Linked DNA regions of Homo sapiens: region 2 is linked to region 1. Evidence: promoter capture Hi-C in 16 types of primary human blood cells and fetal thymus (Javierre and others, 2016). All regions are on one chromosome and are shown on one strand. The core of a region is centred on a gene start or on the middle of the fragment in contact, and the rest is flanking DNA. Distances in the headings are between cores, read along the strand shown. Region 1 holds the start of C1orf94 (chromosome 1 open reading frame 94). Region 2 holds the start of GJB5 (gap junction protein beta 5).

Region 1 (7,684 bases), core at 1,940-4,439:
AGACATTGAGGTTAAACCAACCTGCCCAGGGTAATGTAAGTAGTCAGGGGGAATTCAAGAAGTTTTCCAAGCTAAAAATAATTTACAGATTAAATGGTGTCCATGACCATTAAATGCTTCACTTTAAACTCTAAAAAAGACAGAGACCAAACTCCTCTTCTTCACTACTCTATCTTCAGCACCTCAAACAGTGCTGGGCATAGATACATGTGTTGGAGGAACATAACTCCATGTTGGATGGAAACTGGAATAAGTCAGTTTATATCACACTGCTCTGCACCAGGCACTTATGGAATGCTTTGCCCCGCCTCTGTCACTAGGTGATTCTGTCTAGGGTAGACATCTTTTTCATCATCTCTAATCCCTGTGTCTTTCACAATTTTGACCCATGATGGATGCTCAAAAATGAACAAAGCCTGGAAAGGCGTAAGTGATTATGTGAATTCGTTTCTCCATCACAGAACAACTTCCCCAGTACAACACAATTCTCCCTCTCTACACAAAACACAAAAGCTGCTATTCAGAAACTCCAAAGGCATGCATTTCAGTGTAATCAACAAGCAAACAACTGTATAACACGTTTATCTGTCAGTTGTTGTTCAAGGGACTTTCCATGTGTTAAGCAATTGGTTAGTAATAGAACATCTGTAGTAATTCTACAAAGCAAGTATTCTTCATTATCATCCCATTTTACAGACTAAGAAATCAAATGTTGTGGGCTGAATTATATGCTGCAATCCTAAACCAAATACCTCAGATGTGACTGTATTTGGAGATGAGTCCTTTAAAGAGGTAGCTAAGATTAAAAAAAAGAAAAAAGCCATTAGGGTGTGTCCTAATCTAATATGACTGGTGTCCTTTAAAGGAGTGATTAGGACAGGGACACATATACAGGGAAGACCATGTGAGGACATAGGGAGAACACAGCCAAGTGCAAGCCAGCGAGAGAGACTTCAGAGTGAAACTAACAATGCCAACATCTTGGTCTTGGCCTTCTAACCTCTAGAATGGCAAGGAAATAAAATTCTGTTGTTTAAGCCACACAGTCTGTGGACTTCGTTATGGTAGCCCTACCAAACTAATACACCAAGGCACAGAGTAACTTGCCTAAGCTTACATTGCCAGAAAACGTGAACTCAGAATCTGAACCCAGGGACTCTGGTTCCCGAGAATATGTATTTAATGATAAGAAATGTTCTCTGTGCTGTCCAATATGGTAGCCACTAGCCATATGTGGCTACTGAGCACATAATATGTGGCTAATGCAAATGAGGAGCTGAATTTTTCATTTAATTTATATAAAAATAAAGTTAAAATTAAAACAACCCCATGTGGCTAGTGGCTACCATATGGACATAGCTTTATACTATTTCTAAGTACATCACTTAAGATTTTTGCAGAATTTTCTAGAAATCTCGTCTGTGCACTCTAAAAACATGCTCTATCTTTGTTCCGTATCCCTGCTGTATTTGATTTTTTTTTTTTTTTTTTTTGCAGTCCTTTCTGATTTAGCCCCCGTTGCCTGGTCTCCTGCTGAGGGGGAGAGGGAACAGGAAGAGTGAGTGAGCTGGCTAACTTCCAGAATCCTGGGGCCTGGGCAGTGCAGGGTCGTTGGCGTTCTGCTCTAAGCTTAAGGTGTTAGCCAACCAAATGCCAAGCAGCACAAACACTGAGTGACATTTTCAGAACTATTAATATTTCATCAGAAATGATCACTTTTCCTTTAAATACACTATTTTAAAAGGTTTTCTACATTCTTAACTATAATTTTATTCAGTCTAGGCCCTCAGAATTTTCCCCAAAGGAACACATCTTCAATTTTGTAATGAAAATCAAAGGAGAATGAAGCTCAGATTTCAAAATTTAGAGTAAACATTTCCAGGAACTCAGCCCCTCTGTAAAGAGCAAGGTTGCGTATTGGGCACCTACTGTATACCAGGCACTTTACATACAGTATACCATTAATTCATCCAACACATATTTTTTGAGTGCCTACTATGTGCCAGAAACATGATCCTCATAATTTATTAACACCATTTTACAGAAAAGGAATTCCTCTCATCCTTCTCAAATTTTTCTCCTCAAAGAAGTCGGCCTGGACCACCATGGAATATTGCCTCCCCTCTTCTCCCCAGTGCCTCACTTTGTTACTAGGTTGGTACAAAAGTAATTGTGGTTTTTGCCATTGCAAGTGATGGCAAAAACCGCAATTACTTTTGCACCAACCTAATAGTTATTTTCCATCAGAGTCCCATTGCATCTGTAATTATTGCTGCTTTACTCGCTTGGCTGGTTTGCATCGATCTCTCCTCGCTAGTATACAGGCTCCAGGAGAGCAGGGACCATGCCATTTTTGCCCACCCTTATGCTTCTTCAGTGCCCAGCAACTCATCGGGCACAGAGGAGGGGTTGCATCAGTACTGGGGGAATTATGAATGGGGATGGGAGAAGTTCAGAAAGTTCTTAAGGTCACACAGCTCGGAAATGAGTGTCAGGATTCAACCCAGCCCTGCATTTATAGACTGCCATCTTCCTCTATTTGTGTCCATTCTTCTTTCTTCCGTCTCCACCCTCTTGCTTTTCCTTTTCAGGGGAATTGCTAGAGAAGCAACCCCCTGACTCTCGGAACCAGAAAGTCTCCCTCAGCAGAGGTACTGTGTCAGTGCCCAATTGAATGAAGCCGCTTCAGTGAGGGTAGGGGCCTGTTGATCAGCAAACAGCTAACTTAGCCCTTCTCCCTGCACCTCGGACCTCCTACTCCTGCTCCTACCCACCTACTGAAGCTGTCTCAGTGGTCAAGGGCTAGATCAGGCCTAGAGTGCTGGGGTCTGAGTCTCAGCTTCCCTTTTCTCAGGGGGCCTTGGACGCAATCCCTTATGACTTTGAGATTCGCTTTCCTCCCGTGTAGAACGATAATAAAAAGTGGTACTAATTTCACGAGCTTTAATAGGATTGAATGTGAGCCCAGCGCTTGGCACAGGGCAAGCGCCCCATAAAATGGCAGTTAGGATTAAAATCGAGGTTGCCGGGGGACCCCCAGGCAGGAGCTGAGATTTGTGTGGAGCGGCGAAGTGGGGCGGCGGCGCGTTTGGCTTTGACTTCTGATCCCCCGAAGCGCTCTGGGGTCCTTTGGGCCCCACCCCCACCCACCCCACCGGCGGGTCTTGGGCTCCGAACCCAGGGCGCCCCGCGCACCGAGCCGTTGCGTTTGAAACCCACAGAAAGAATTCCCCCGCTCGACGACGGCGAGGGTGTGGGAGCTACTGGCAGGCAAATTGGTGGGAGCCGCCCGGCCCAGCCTGCCTTGCCGAGTCAGCGCGCTCTTGAGCCGCTGGGCCCTTCCCGGTGCCCGCCTGGCAGCGCGGCGCGGCTGGGGCAGGGGTCTGCTGGGGGCCGGGGACTAAGGGCTGTGGGCCCATCCACACACGCCTCATCCCTTCTTTCCGGGGGCAGCAGAGCAGCAGCGGGAGACCGGGAGCAGGAGGGGTAGGGCGAGAGAAAAGCAGGACCTGGGCCGGGGGTGGGAGTCGGGCCGTTGACGCTCGCTCTGCGAGGGGCTCCCTGGGAACGCCCAGGCGAGCGCCTCCTGCGGGGCCCCGCCCCCCGAGTGCCTACAATGGTGCCAGGCCCGCACCCAGTCCTCCGCGTGGCTTAGCGGGACAGCATGGGCTGAGCCCAGGCGCCGAAAGTTGTCACGGCGGCGTCGCAAGGGGGCAGTGCCAGGGACTGTGGGGAGAGCCAGCCCTCCCCTTCCAGCTGTTCCCAGATGTCATTCTGCCCGCCCAGGCGCCTGGTTCCTGAGCTCCGCAGCATTCCACTGTTCCTAAGCTACTGGTTTTTGTTGACTTTTAAATATTTTCTTCTAAGGGAGAGGGGGAGGGAGGCAAAAGTCAGGAAAGAGCAAATAAAAACAAATCAAAATAAGCCCTCCCCTCCCCAAAAGAAAGCTGTCCTCCACCCACCCCTCCCACACAAATAGAAGGCCTCTGAACCTAACCACCTTGCTGGAGCGAAAGCCAGACAGAACTGACCCACTTCTGCCAAGCCCCATCCTCATCTCCCTTTCTGGTGAATGAGGGGTGGTGGTGGTTGTGTTCTAGCCCTGGGTGGACAGAGGGGCTTCCAGAAAGAGAGGAGGAGGATGGCCAGCGGGAATGGGCTTCCTTCATCCTCGGCCCTGGTGGCCAAGGGCCCCTGCGCCCTGGGCCCATTCCCCAGATACATCTGGATCCACCAGGACACACCCCAAGACAGCCTAGACAAGACTTGCCATGAAATCTGGAAGAGAGTTCAAGGCCTGCCTGAGGCCTCACAGCCCTGGACCTCCATGGAGCAGCTCTCTGTCCCTGTGGTTGGAACTCTAAGAGGCAATGAGCTCAGCTTTCAAGAAGAGTAAGTACCCCCCTACTCCATTGGCAGCAAGGGAGGAGGGAGGAGATGAAGTCTGACCTTCTGGGGGAATGTTCTGGCCCACTGTTGAGGCTGGTGAAACCCTAAAGGCTGTATATTGCCCCCTCCATGGTCCTTTGTCCAAGCTTTATAGAAGAGCTGACCAAAGTTCTGAAGTTTTGTGGGTGAAGAGTCAGATTAGGGCTATATTCCAGGCTGCCTCTTCACCAGCCCGTTAAGCAGACATTTCTCATCCTAAACGCATGTGAATCTGAGGTCCTTGAAAAACCACCCTAGCTAAGGCTAAGGGTTATATGGCTTGTGGCTTTCCCCAGAAGCAACTAGAAGATCCTTCCCCTCTCCCACCTAAAGGCTAGGCATTCACATGGATGAGTCTGATGGTTTTAAATCACATCTGGAATTCCCTAATACAGGGAGCAGCTGTCCCATTCAGCCTCCACAGAAGCTGCTGCAAGAGCACACATCAAAATATTTACTGGGAAGGCACTGACATATTCAGAGGACATAATAGAAAATTAAAGTGCGGGAAGATGGCTGTAAATAGCCCGTTTCCGGGATGGGAAATCCTGTGTCTGGGAAACACAGAGCTAAGTGTTTCTCCATCAGGGCAAAGTTGGGCAGATATTGTTGAGGATGGATATTCGAAAGGAAAGGAAGGAGCAGAGAGGAAAAAGGGAAATTAGGAAAAGAAAGTAAATCTGCTGTGGTTATTAATACCGCCGTTGAGCACTTACTTATTTCACGTTTTGCATCTTCAAAGTGGACTGTAAACTTAATTAATGTTCCCAGAGTCCCTGTGAGGCAGGTATTAGTGTCCCCATTTTACAGATGGATTAAGTGTTAATAATTAAGAGCTAATTAAAGACTAACCGATAATTAAGTGTTGCCTGCTCCAACACATGCTACAGCTCAGTTCAGAGATGCTCTGGAGTTGGGGAGCCATTCAGGCATTTATCAGCTGCCTCGGGTTTCAGGGATGCCTAAGCAAGAGCTAAGAAGAAAAGCAAAGTGTAAATGACACCCAGCTCTACACTACCTGCTGTCCCTCTGTGGGCTCATTTACTTACTGCAGATGAAGGTGGAAGGCACTTTGGCTAGTCCTGCCTCCCTGCCCTGTGCTCAGCATGACAAGGCTCAGACAGGAATGGCCCATCTACAGCTAAAATCCTGCTGTCAGGCCCTTCAGTGGCACTGAGCCCTTCTCCCCTGCTCATTGCCATCTGCTCTGGGACAGGGCCTTGGCAGGAGGGCCCATGGGGCTGTGCTCTGCTCTCAATGGCCAAGAAGCTGATTGTCCACTTTGTGGACCAAGGGTCAGTAGCAATTTCCAGTAGATGGCATCCTCTTTGCCAGGTCACACAGAGTTAATGGAGACAGACTCGACTTCCAGTCTGCACTTGGCTGAAAATTGAACTGGTGCACCTTTGGCCAGCTGCTTAACTCCATTTGGCCTTTACTTCCTCATTTGCAAATTGAGGGTGATATGTGCTGCCTTGTCTACCTCAGAGTTGATAATGAGGATCCAATGTGATGGGAGACAGGGAAATGAAAGATGCATTATACAAATCAGGCTGCTCTTAACATGTACTTCTTCAGGTTGGGATTTGTTGTTGTTGTTGTTGTTTTTGTTGTTGTTGGCTTCAATCTGGGGTTCACACTATGCTCCATATACCTCAAGGTGCTTCAGGGGTCACTGTGGAGTCAAGTGGGCTGGTTGCTGGGCCCCAAAATCCATTTCAGCCAGAGCTGTTTAGCTTTTATCAGTTTTACTTACTAGAGTTCTGAGTAGGGCTGAATTTGAAAAACATGTTTCTGCTATTGAGAAAAGAGATAGGAAACCAATGACTTAGACGAATAAACGACATCCTAATTGTCAACCAAATAGAACACAATGAGCTATTCTTAAAATAAAGGCGGTGTGCTGGTGGAGTCAGATAACTCTGGTTTCAGATTCCATTTCAGCCCCATGCCATTTGAAGAATTTGTTACTCTTTAATTTATCTAAACTTTGGTTTCCTCATCTGCCAAATGGAGATTAATACTATACATTTTGTAGGGTTGTTGGAATGATTAAATGGGATATTTAAACATTTATGGTAATAATTCAGATTTGTAAAAATTCCTTGCAATTCAGATGTGATCATTTCTTTAAGCTCTACAATTATTGCATGAGGTAGGTACTCTTTTAAACTTTCCATCTCTTTTTACTTTTTATTATGCAAATTTTCAAACACATAGAATAATAATATGGTGAATATCTATGTGTCTATCACTGAGTTTCAATAATTATCACATTGTGCCATTCTGGTTTCAATTGCTACCTCCACCCCTCCATTTATAAGTGAAATTACTTTTACAGATAACGTGGCTGAGGTTTGGAGGGGTTAATTTCTTTGCCCAAGCTCCTACAGTTAGGAAGTAGTAGAGTTTCAGAAATGAAACCCAAGACCGCCTTGGCCCTGAGGCAATAATGTCGGCTGTCCTGTCTTAGAATCTGGGGCATCTTTGAATAGTCAAAATAGTTGGGAGTCCCATATACTGAATGATCACACACAGAGTGAAAAGCCAGGGAGCTGTTCTTACTATTTCTAGAATGCCTTCAGGTGCACAAGATATCTCTCAGCTGGTCTTTCTGCTGCTTAATTTGTAGACCTGGTTTTGGTGGTGTTTTCTTGTATTGTGGTAGATAGGTAAGTGCATTCTACAATTCTTTTTGGCCAGAATTTGTTTTTCTTGACTCTGCACCTATTTATCATAGGAACCTAGACATTTCAAATTTGAAAGAGATTTTTGAAGCCATCTTCCGCTGCTCGAATCCCCTCCTTACTGTCCCTGCCAAGTGGTGCACTTGTACCACTTGGTACAGTTTATCAGATGGGGAGCTTACCACTTCCCTTTGCTGCCCCTTCCCTTGCTATGAACCCCCTCAAAATACCTTTTGCTTTCTATCACTGAAATATGTCTCTATCAAACTAATTCCCATTGATCTGGATTCTGCCCTTAGTACTCCAAGCCAAATCTATGTCTTTTTTCTTTCGATACCCCTTTGGATAGTGAAAGACAGCAAGACAGCAACAATATTCCTCCCAGAATGTTTTTGTCTCTATAAGCTAACCACCTCTGGTTTTCTAAGTTTCTCCCCATGTGCCAATTTGGTTAGTTTCCTGTCCACACTGTTGGTCCTTGTGGCAGTGTAACTTTGAAAGCCAAGTACAATAATCCAGGGGTGATCCAATCCATGCAGATTTGATCCTCCCTGTCTGCATTCTGTTTC
Region 2 (7,684 bases), core at 1,654-4,153, 580 kb after region 1:
GGACGAGGATACCTAGAAGCATTGGGCCCCAGTCTCAGGAATGGTGAGCCTCTCCATGACCCAGCTCATGCAGAGCCTCAGAAATCGTAGGGAGAGACCAAGGGGCACATCCCAGTTTCAGCCTCCTCGGACTGAGCTTGGAAGCATGGGTAGAGCTGGTGGAGTAGGTCTAGAGGCCTAGGAAAGGAGGCACATCATAGGGGAAGAGCATGACCATTCGTCCCAGAGGAAAAGCAAATGTCCACCCAACAGGTCAGAGAGCAACAGCCCACAGAGTGGAAGAAAATGAATGTGTGAGACATGCCAGCTGTAAATCACCATGTTTATATACATCCTCTCAAGCACTCCTCACAACAGCACCACCCGACCCCTTCCACATTCGAAAGAAAGGAAACTAAGGCTCAGAGAGAAAAAATGAGTTGACCAAGGCCACATAGTTAGGGAGCAGAAATGGGGTTTGAGCCCAGGTCTGTGTGGATTCTGCCCATCACACAACTCTTTCCCTGTTTTCCAGGTTTGCCTGTTCTCTGTCATGCCCACCTTCCACCCTTCCCACCTCCAGCTCCCTCCTGGATTTCCAGCATCCCCTGAGTCCCATCCCTCAGTAAAAGAACAGCCATGAAGCCTCCATTGAAACCTCTCACTTGATAATAAGCCCACTTTCATGATAACAAACCCACTCCCATGATAACGATGTTAATCCAACTAACCTAATTACCTCTTAAAGTCCCACCTCCCAACACTGTTGCATTGGGGGTTAAGTTTCAATACATGAGAGCATTGGGGGACACATTCCAAGCATAGCAGGGGGAGTGAGTGGGAAAAGTGGTGCATAGGTTCATCACAGATGTGTTTGGAGTTAATGAGTTCAGTGCTACGTGTGCTGAGTAAGAGCCACATGAACTATCCAGGGTCACGAGGTGGCAGCAATAGTTGGAGTCCTCAGCCCCAAGCTGGTGGTAGGAGCCACAGCCTGTGGAGAGTGCACTGAGAGAAGAGAATCCAGGAGAGCTCTGGAGAGTGCTGGCATTTTAGGAAGCAGGCAGAGGGTTACTGGCAGAGGAGAAAGCTCCAGGCCTCAATTTAAATCTTACACTTTCAGAAAGGCTTTCCCTGCTTCCTGAAACTAGGTCTGGTTCTCCATTATACATTTTCTTGGCACTGTGCTTCTCCTTTGTGACTCTATCACAATTGCATTTTTAGAGTTATTGGTGTGTGTGTGTGTGTGTGTGTGTGTGTGTGTGTGTGTGTGTTTAATGTCTTATTTCCTCCTTTGACTGTAATCTTCAAGAGGACCAGGCCCAGAGGTTGAACCATGAGAACCATGCTTACTGATTTATTTCCACTATCAGGCGCAACACGTGGCACATAGTAGGTGCTTAATGAATATTTGACGATGAGTAAATGATTCTGTTTATCAAGCATAAAGGAGCCGACAGTGTTGCCAAATCCTTGGGTATGAAGATGTTGAAGCATTACGGTGTTAAAAGCACTGGCTCTGGAGCTCAGCTACCTGAATTCCACCCCCAGCTCTCCTGATTACTGATTGTGCAAGCCCAGGCAAGTTTCTTAGCCTCTCTGGGCCTCAGTTTTCCCATCTGGAACATGGAGCCATTGGAGTTCCTACCTCATAGGGTTATTTCTATCAGTGGCCCAATCACCTATCAAATCACCAAAACCAGTGACCTATGAACCATCCTAGGTCAGCCTCCTGCCTCACATCCTACATCCAGTCAGTCCCCCAAGTCAGTCCCCCAAAGCTGCCAGCTGTATTTACCAGCTATTTCCCAAATCCAACCCTCTTGCTCATTTCTTGCCTAAATCATTGCAGTAACTTTCATACCGGTCTCACAAGCCCCTCCAGCCTCTTTTCTCAAACAGAGGAAGCTTTCTAAACATACAGTTGATCTTCATTATTCACAGATTCCGTATTGTGCATTCTCCAGCTCACCACAATTTATTCCTAAGCCAAAATCTACACTTAAGACACTTTCATGGCCATTTATAACATGCACAGAGTGGCAAAAATTTGAGTCTCCCAATGCACGTGTTCCCAGCTGTGGCTGAACAAGGTGACATTCTGCCTTCCCCTTTCAGCTCTAATGCTATAAACATGTTCTATTGGAGGTCTACTTGGTGCCATGTTTTTCTCATTTCTTGCTTTTTGCTGGGGATTTGCTGTTTGAAATGGCCCCGAGTACAGTGCTGAAGTGCCATCTAGTGTTTCTAAGCACACGAAGGCTACGATGAGCCTTATGGAAAAAATATGTGTGTTAGACAAGCTTCATTCAGTCATGAGTTATAGTGGTGTTGGCTATGAGTCCAATATTAATGAGTCAACAATATATATTAAACAAGGTGTCTTCAGAAACACACATAAAACAGACTTCTGTATTGATCAGTTGATAACCACATTGTAAACAGAAGCTTGCAGGAACCTAACCTCATATGTCCTCTAGGAAGAATGCTTCAATATTCACTAACTTGGTGCTCATGGTGACTCATAGACTATAACTACCTTGAATAATGAGAATCAAATGTACCAATCTGACCATGTCTCTTCCTTTTTCCTGCCTCAGCACAATACAAAATGTAAAAATAGAAAAAAGAAAAGAATTCCCTCATGCCTCCCTCTGCACCCAAGATAAATTCAAACTCCTTAGCATGACATTCCAGGTCCTTCATGGTCTGGAAGGTCTTTGCTGACCTTCCAGGCTCCTTGCCATGTGGTGTCCCCACCACTACCCAGCCCACTCTCCAATGCTCTTCCATTATTTTTCACAAAGGTCCTCTGCACGCTATGTGCCCACTGCCTCAAAGGCCCCTCCTCAGCATCTCTTCTTGGTAAACTCCTATACATCCTTCAAGACCCAGCTTAAATGTTACCTTCTCCGGCTCTCCCTCTGGCAGAACTTAAAACTCCCTTCTCTCTCTGTGTCTTTTCTAGGACTTCTCACAATGTTGTAACTGATCTCTTTATATGCCTCCTCTCTCCTGTACTTGGCAACAGCTTTTTGGAAAGAGCATGGAGTATAGAAATGTGTGACTCTCTGCAGGGTGTGTGCATTTCACACATCATTCATTCAATAAATATAAATTGAAGCCTAACTGGACAAGACACCAGGCACCATACTAGGCACAAGGGATAGAGCAGTGAATAAAATAAAGCCACTGCTGCATGTGTGTGCAACACTGTGCCCATAATTGTGGCCTGTGTGTAAGAGTATGCTCATGTGAAGCTACATTGTGTTTGCTTGTGGACATGAGGTGTTTGTGGCTCCTGGATGCTTTGTCTGTTGAATCCTGACCCCAAGTGACCTGCTGATACAGGGCACCTTGGAAGTCAATTAGGCCAAAAGACCGTGTCTGTGCACTAATGAGAAGCTTTCCCCAGGTGCCCCTGCCCACCTTCTCCACCTCTCCTGTGGTTCCTGCCTGGCTTGGGTTTGGCCTTTTTAACCCAAAGACAACATGCATCCAAATGAGATTTTCTCTAGTGCATACGTCTCTCTCTCCCTCCCTTCTCCTCTGCCTTCCCTGTATCTCAGAAAGAAAAGGCCTAGGAATAAGGAAAAGGAGGAGGAAGAAACATTTTTTTGAGGACATACCATGCGGCAGGCCTGTGCTGGGCAGTATACACGCATTATAGGCAATTGTAGACAGGGCTTCCCTTGTGTCAGGCACTGTTCTAAGCACTTCACCCCTAAGGCTGGGTTAATCCACGTATCCACCCTATGAGGTAGGTGTTGTTCTTTTCCCACTTTCACAGAGAAGGCAAGAAATCACACAGTGAGAAAGTGGCAGAGCTGGGATTCAGGCCTCAGCTTCTCCCACACAAGCCCACAGATGGGAGGATGAACAAGGAGTCAGAGTGGACCTGTGGCTCTCCCCTGAGAGGATACCAGGATTCGAGGCTCAGCGCCCTGGGAGGAGTGAACCCCTCAGTTTCCTGAGCCTCATCAGAAGCAGTCTGGGGAGGCTGGGGCCCAGCCAATGGCAGTGCAGGTCCCAGCTCCTCCTCCTCCCAGGCTGGGCCAGCACACCCGGCAGGCTCTGTCCTGGAAACAGGCTTCAACGGGCTTCCCCGAAAACCTTCCCCGCTTCTGGATATGAAATTCAAGCTGCTTGCTGAGTCCTATTGCCGGCTGCTGGGAGCCAGGAGAGCCCTGAGGAGTAGTCACTCAGGTAAGGGCATCTGTGTCCGCATGTGCCCTGCCCCTTGGCATACGTGGCAGGAGGACACTTCTCTGCTGGGGAGTGGTGGGATGTGGCCTGGACACATCTGCCACCCTGGGTCCTGATGGTGGAGGAATAAGGGGCTCTGGGTTCTTTCAGGTCTCCCCAGCCGGGCAAAGGTAGGAGCAGGGGCCAGGCCGGAAGCTCAGCAGGCAGGGTAGCTCTGCCTGGGCCTGCAAAGCCCTGCCCCACTCCTCCCCAAGTAGGGATGGGCTGGGTGAGAGCCCCTGGGGCTAAGGGCGGGGCCTTCCTGGGTGTTCCCTGAGAAGCTGCAGGAGTCCTACCTTAGACAGGACTGAGCATGCAAGATGGTGATTCAAAACAGAGCTCCCCCCAACCCCGGCCCCCACCTCCACCCATCCCCCGTCCAAGTGGCGCAGGTGGTGTGGAGACAGGGTGGTGGGCAAAGGTTCCCCCAGCCACCCTCATCCAGGATCCACACACAAGGGGAAGGACAGAATCCGTCTGCACACAAACAGGCAGGCAGCTCATTGAAACTTGAGGAAAGGGTCTGAGGCCTAAGGCTGGGCAGTTCCCGGAGGGTGGGCTCTAGAGCCAGCCTGCCTGGGTTCAAATCCTAGCTCTGCCACTTATTAGCTGTGTGACGTTGAGCAAGTTAATTAATCCCTCTGTGTTCCTCTTTCCTCATCTGTAAATTGGGAATAAAAAATATGCCCTTTCCTAAGGTTGCTGTGAAGGAATAATGTACTGATTCATACAAAGAACTTAGAGCGGTGCCTGGCACGGCATGAATGCTTCATGGATATTGGCTGTTATCACTACTCTGCTTTGCAGTTGATCATGCAGAGGCTCCAGAGAGCCTGGTGAGCTTCAGCCTGGACCAGCATGGGAAGGCCATCATGAGCCCTTTAGTGGCTAGGCAGACAGGTTCCTTGGGGTCCCAGGGTGCACAGTTGGTTGAAACCACAGTGCATGGGTCTTAATGGACACACCCCCATCTCCAGGAATCAGGCAGAGGACTCGCGGGTGAGGAAGTGGGGACCCCTTACTCTGCCTAGCAGTCACAGTCCTTACGCGGAGGTGAATCTGATTCTGTGAGTTCATCAGGCCAAATTCACCAGCAGAACTGACAGGAGCAGCATTTCCCACTTGATGTCTTGACAAGGCTGTTCCACAAGATGATAAATGTTATGTCAGGAGGAAAAGGGCTTCTGTGGGCAAATGAGTTTGGGCAATGCCACATATTTCATACCTCTTTTGGTGAATTTATTAGTGAGTTTATTAGCACGGTTGAGCAAAAGAACCCTATTTAACTTTACTAAACCCAATGTTTGCCAACTTTTCTTGACACAGAATCCTCTTCTCTCACTTCTCCTATTGCCAACCTATGGGACAGGGTTCCAGGGAACACTGTTTGGGAAACACTGGAATACCAGGTTACTCTAGGAAACCTACTGTATGAAGAGAATTTATTGCTGCCTGCTTTAGCTTTCAGCTGGATTGCATTGAGTGGCACTTGAGCAGGACTCTGCCTGGCTAATTACAGAGTGTTAGACCAGATGGGGGCTTGGGGACAAGGTTCCAGCCTCCTTTCCAGTCCCATCCCTGAGCCAAGAAAAGGACAAAGAGCAGGTTCCCCTGGGGAAGGGGCTGTCTGAGAAGAGGCAGCAGTGCTCAGAAAGGAGAGAACCATCTCAAGGCTCAGCCCCCCTGAGGAGGAGGGCCAGGGTTGAAACAGAGGGAGCAGGCAGAATGTCCCAGCTCCACCAGTCTTCACTCTGCAGAACCTCAAGACCAGAGCCTCAGGCCCGGGGAGGAATGAGTGGCTCCCTGGACCTGCCCTTATCCACTGGTATTGGTAAGAGCTGGGTTCTGGACTTAATTACCTATGCTCAAATCCCAGCCCTGCACCTAATAGTTGTGTAACCTTGTATATAATGCCACTAAACCTCAGCTCCCTCCCTCTACAAAATGGGGACAGTAGTAGAACCCAGCTCCTCTAGTGATGGTAAGGATGAAATGTGATGACATATTTCTACAAAGTGCTCAGAGCAAGTCTGTGATAAATGTAGGAAATGATTGTTCTTGTTTCCCTGCAGTAGCAGCTGACGCGTGGGTCCACCATGAACTGGAGTATCTTTGAGGGACTCCTGAGTGGGGTCAACAAGTACTCCACAGCCTTTGGGCGCATCTGGCTGTCTCTGGTCTTCATCTTCCGCGTGCTGGTGTACCTGGTGACGGCCGAGCGTGTGTGGAGTGATGACCACAAGGACTTCGACTGCAATACTCGCCAGCCCGGCTGCTCCAACGTCTGCTTTGATGAGTTCTTCCCTGTGTCCCATGTGCGCCTCTGGGCCCTGCAGCTTATCCTGGTGACATGCCCCTCACTGCTCGTGGTCATGCACGTGGCCTACCGGGAGGTTCAGGAGAAGAGGCACCGAGAAGCCCATGGGGAGAACAGTGGGCGCCTCTACCTGAACCCCGGCAAGAAGCGGGGTGGGCTCTGGTGGACATATGTCTGCAGCCTAGTGTTCAAGGCGAGCGTGGACATCGCCTTTCTCTATGTGTTCCACTCATTCTACCCCAAATATATCCTCCCTCCTGTGGTCAAGTGCCACGCAGATCCATGTCCCAATATAGTGGACTGCTTCATCTCCAAGCCCTCAGAGAAGAACATTTTCACCCTCTTCATGGTGGCCACAGCTGCCATCTGCATCCTGCTCAACCTCGTGGAGCTCATCTACCTGGTGAGCAAGAGATGCCACGAGTGCCTGGCAGCAAGGAAAGCTCAAGCCATGTGCACAGGTCATCACCCCCACGGTACCACCTCTTCCTGCAAACAAGACGACCTCCTTTCGGGTGACCTCATCTTTCTGGGCTCAGACAGTCATCCTCCTCTCTTACCAGACCGCCCCCGAGACCATGTGAAGAAAACCATCTTGTGAGGGGCTGCCTGGACTGGTCTGGCAGGTTGGGCCTGGATGGGGAGGCTCTAGCATCTCTCATAGGTGCAACCTGAGAGTGGGGGAGCTAAGCCATGAGGTAGGGGCAGGCAAGAGAGAGGATTCAGACGCTCTGGGAGCCAGTTCCTAGTCCTCAACTCCAGCCACCTGCCCCAGCTCGACGGCACTGGGCCAGTTCCCCCTCTGCTCTGCAGCTCGGTTTCCTTTTCTAGAATGGAAATAGTGAGGGCCAATGCCCAGGGTTGGAGGGAGGAGGGCGTTCATAGAAGAACACACATGCGGGCACCTTCATCGTGTGTGGCCCACTGTCAGAACTTAATAAAAGTCAACTCATTTGCTGGTTCCAGGTGCCCTCTGGTTGTGCGGCCTTCGTGACCCTCACACGTTCATGGTGTCAATCTCTCTGCCCCCGTGAAGAGCTGCACTTGATCCAGCCTGTGAGGGGCATCCTCTCTTCCAGAAAGGGGGCCCCCAGTACTCCAGGGGACGTGCTACTTGCTCATGCTCCCATCTAGCCTTTATCC

The links. The method cuts DNA at HindIII sites, captures the fragments that hold promoters and counts their contacts. A CHiCAGO score of 5 or more calls a contact.
Region 2: a contact is called between a fragment that was not itself captured here and the fragment with the promoter of C1orf94 in region 1, in 1 of 17 cell types (erythroblasts). The highest score is 5.1, in erythroblasts.

What each region holds. Positions count from the first base shown.
Region 1 is chr1:34,173,718-34,181,401 of GRCh38, forward strand. It overlaps C1orf94 (chromosome 1 open reading frame 94), which reads left to right and starts at 3,190. Exons shown (of 7, transcript NM_001134734.2): 1 at 3,190-4,392. The coding sequence starts at 4,073. RefSeq lists a silencer at 3,491-3,785 and an enhancer at 5,500-6,000. The HindIII fragment of the contact is 2,906 bases long and covers 1,628-4,533 here.
Region 2 is chr1:34,751,011-34,758,694 of GRCh38, forward strand. It overlaps GJB5 (gap junction protein beta 5), which reads left to right and starts at 4,037. Exons shown (of 2, transcript NM_005268.4): 1 at 4,037-4,185; 2 at 6,297-7,502. The coding sequence starts at 6,321. The coding sequence ends at 7,142. The HindIII fragment of the contact is 957 bases long and covers 2,426-3,382 here.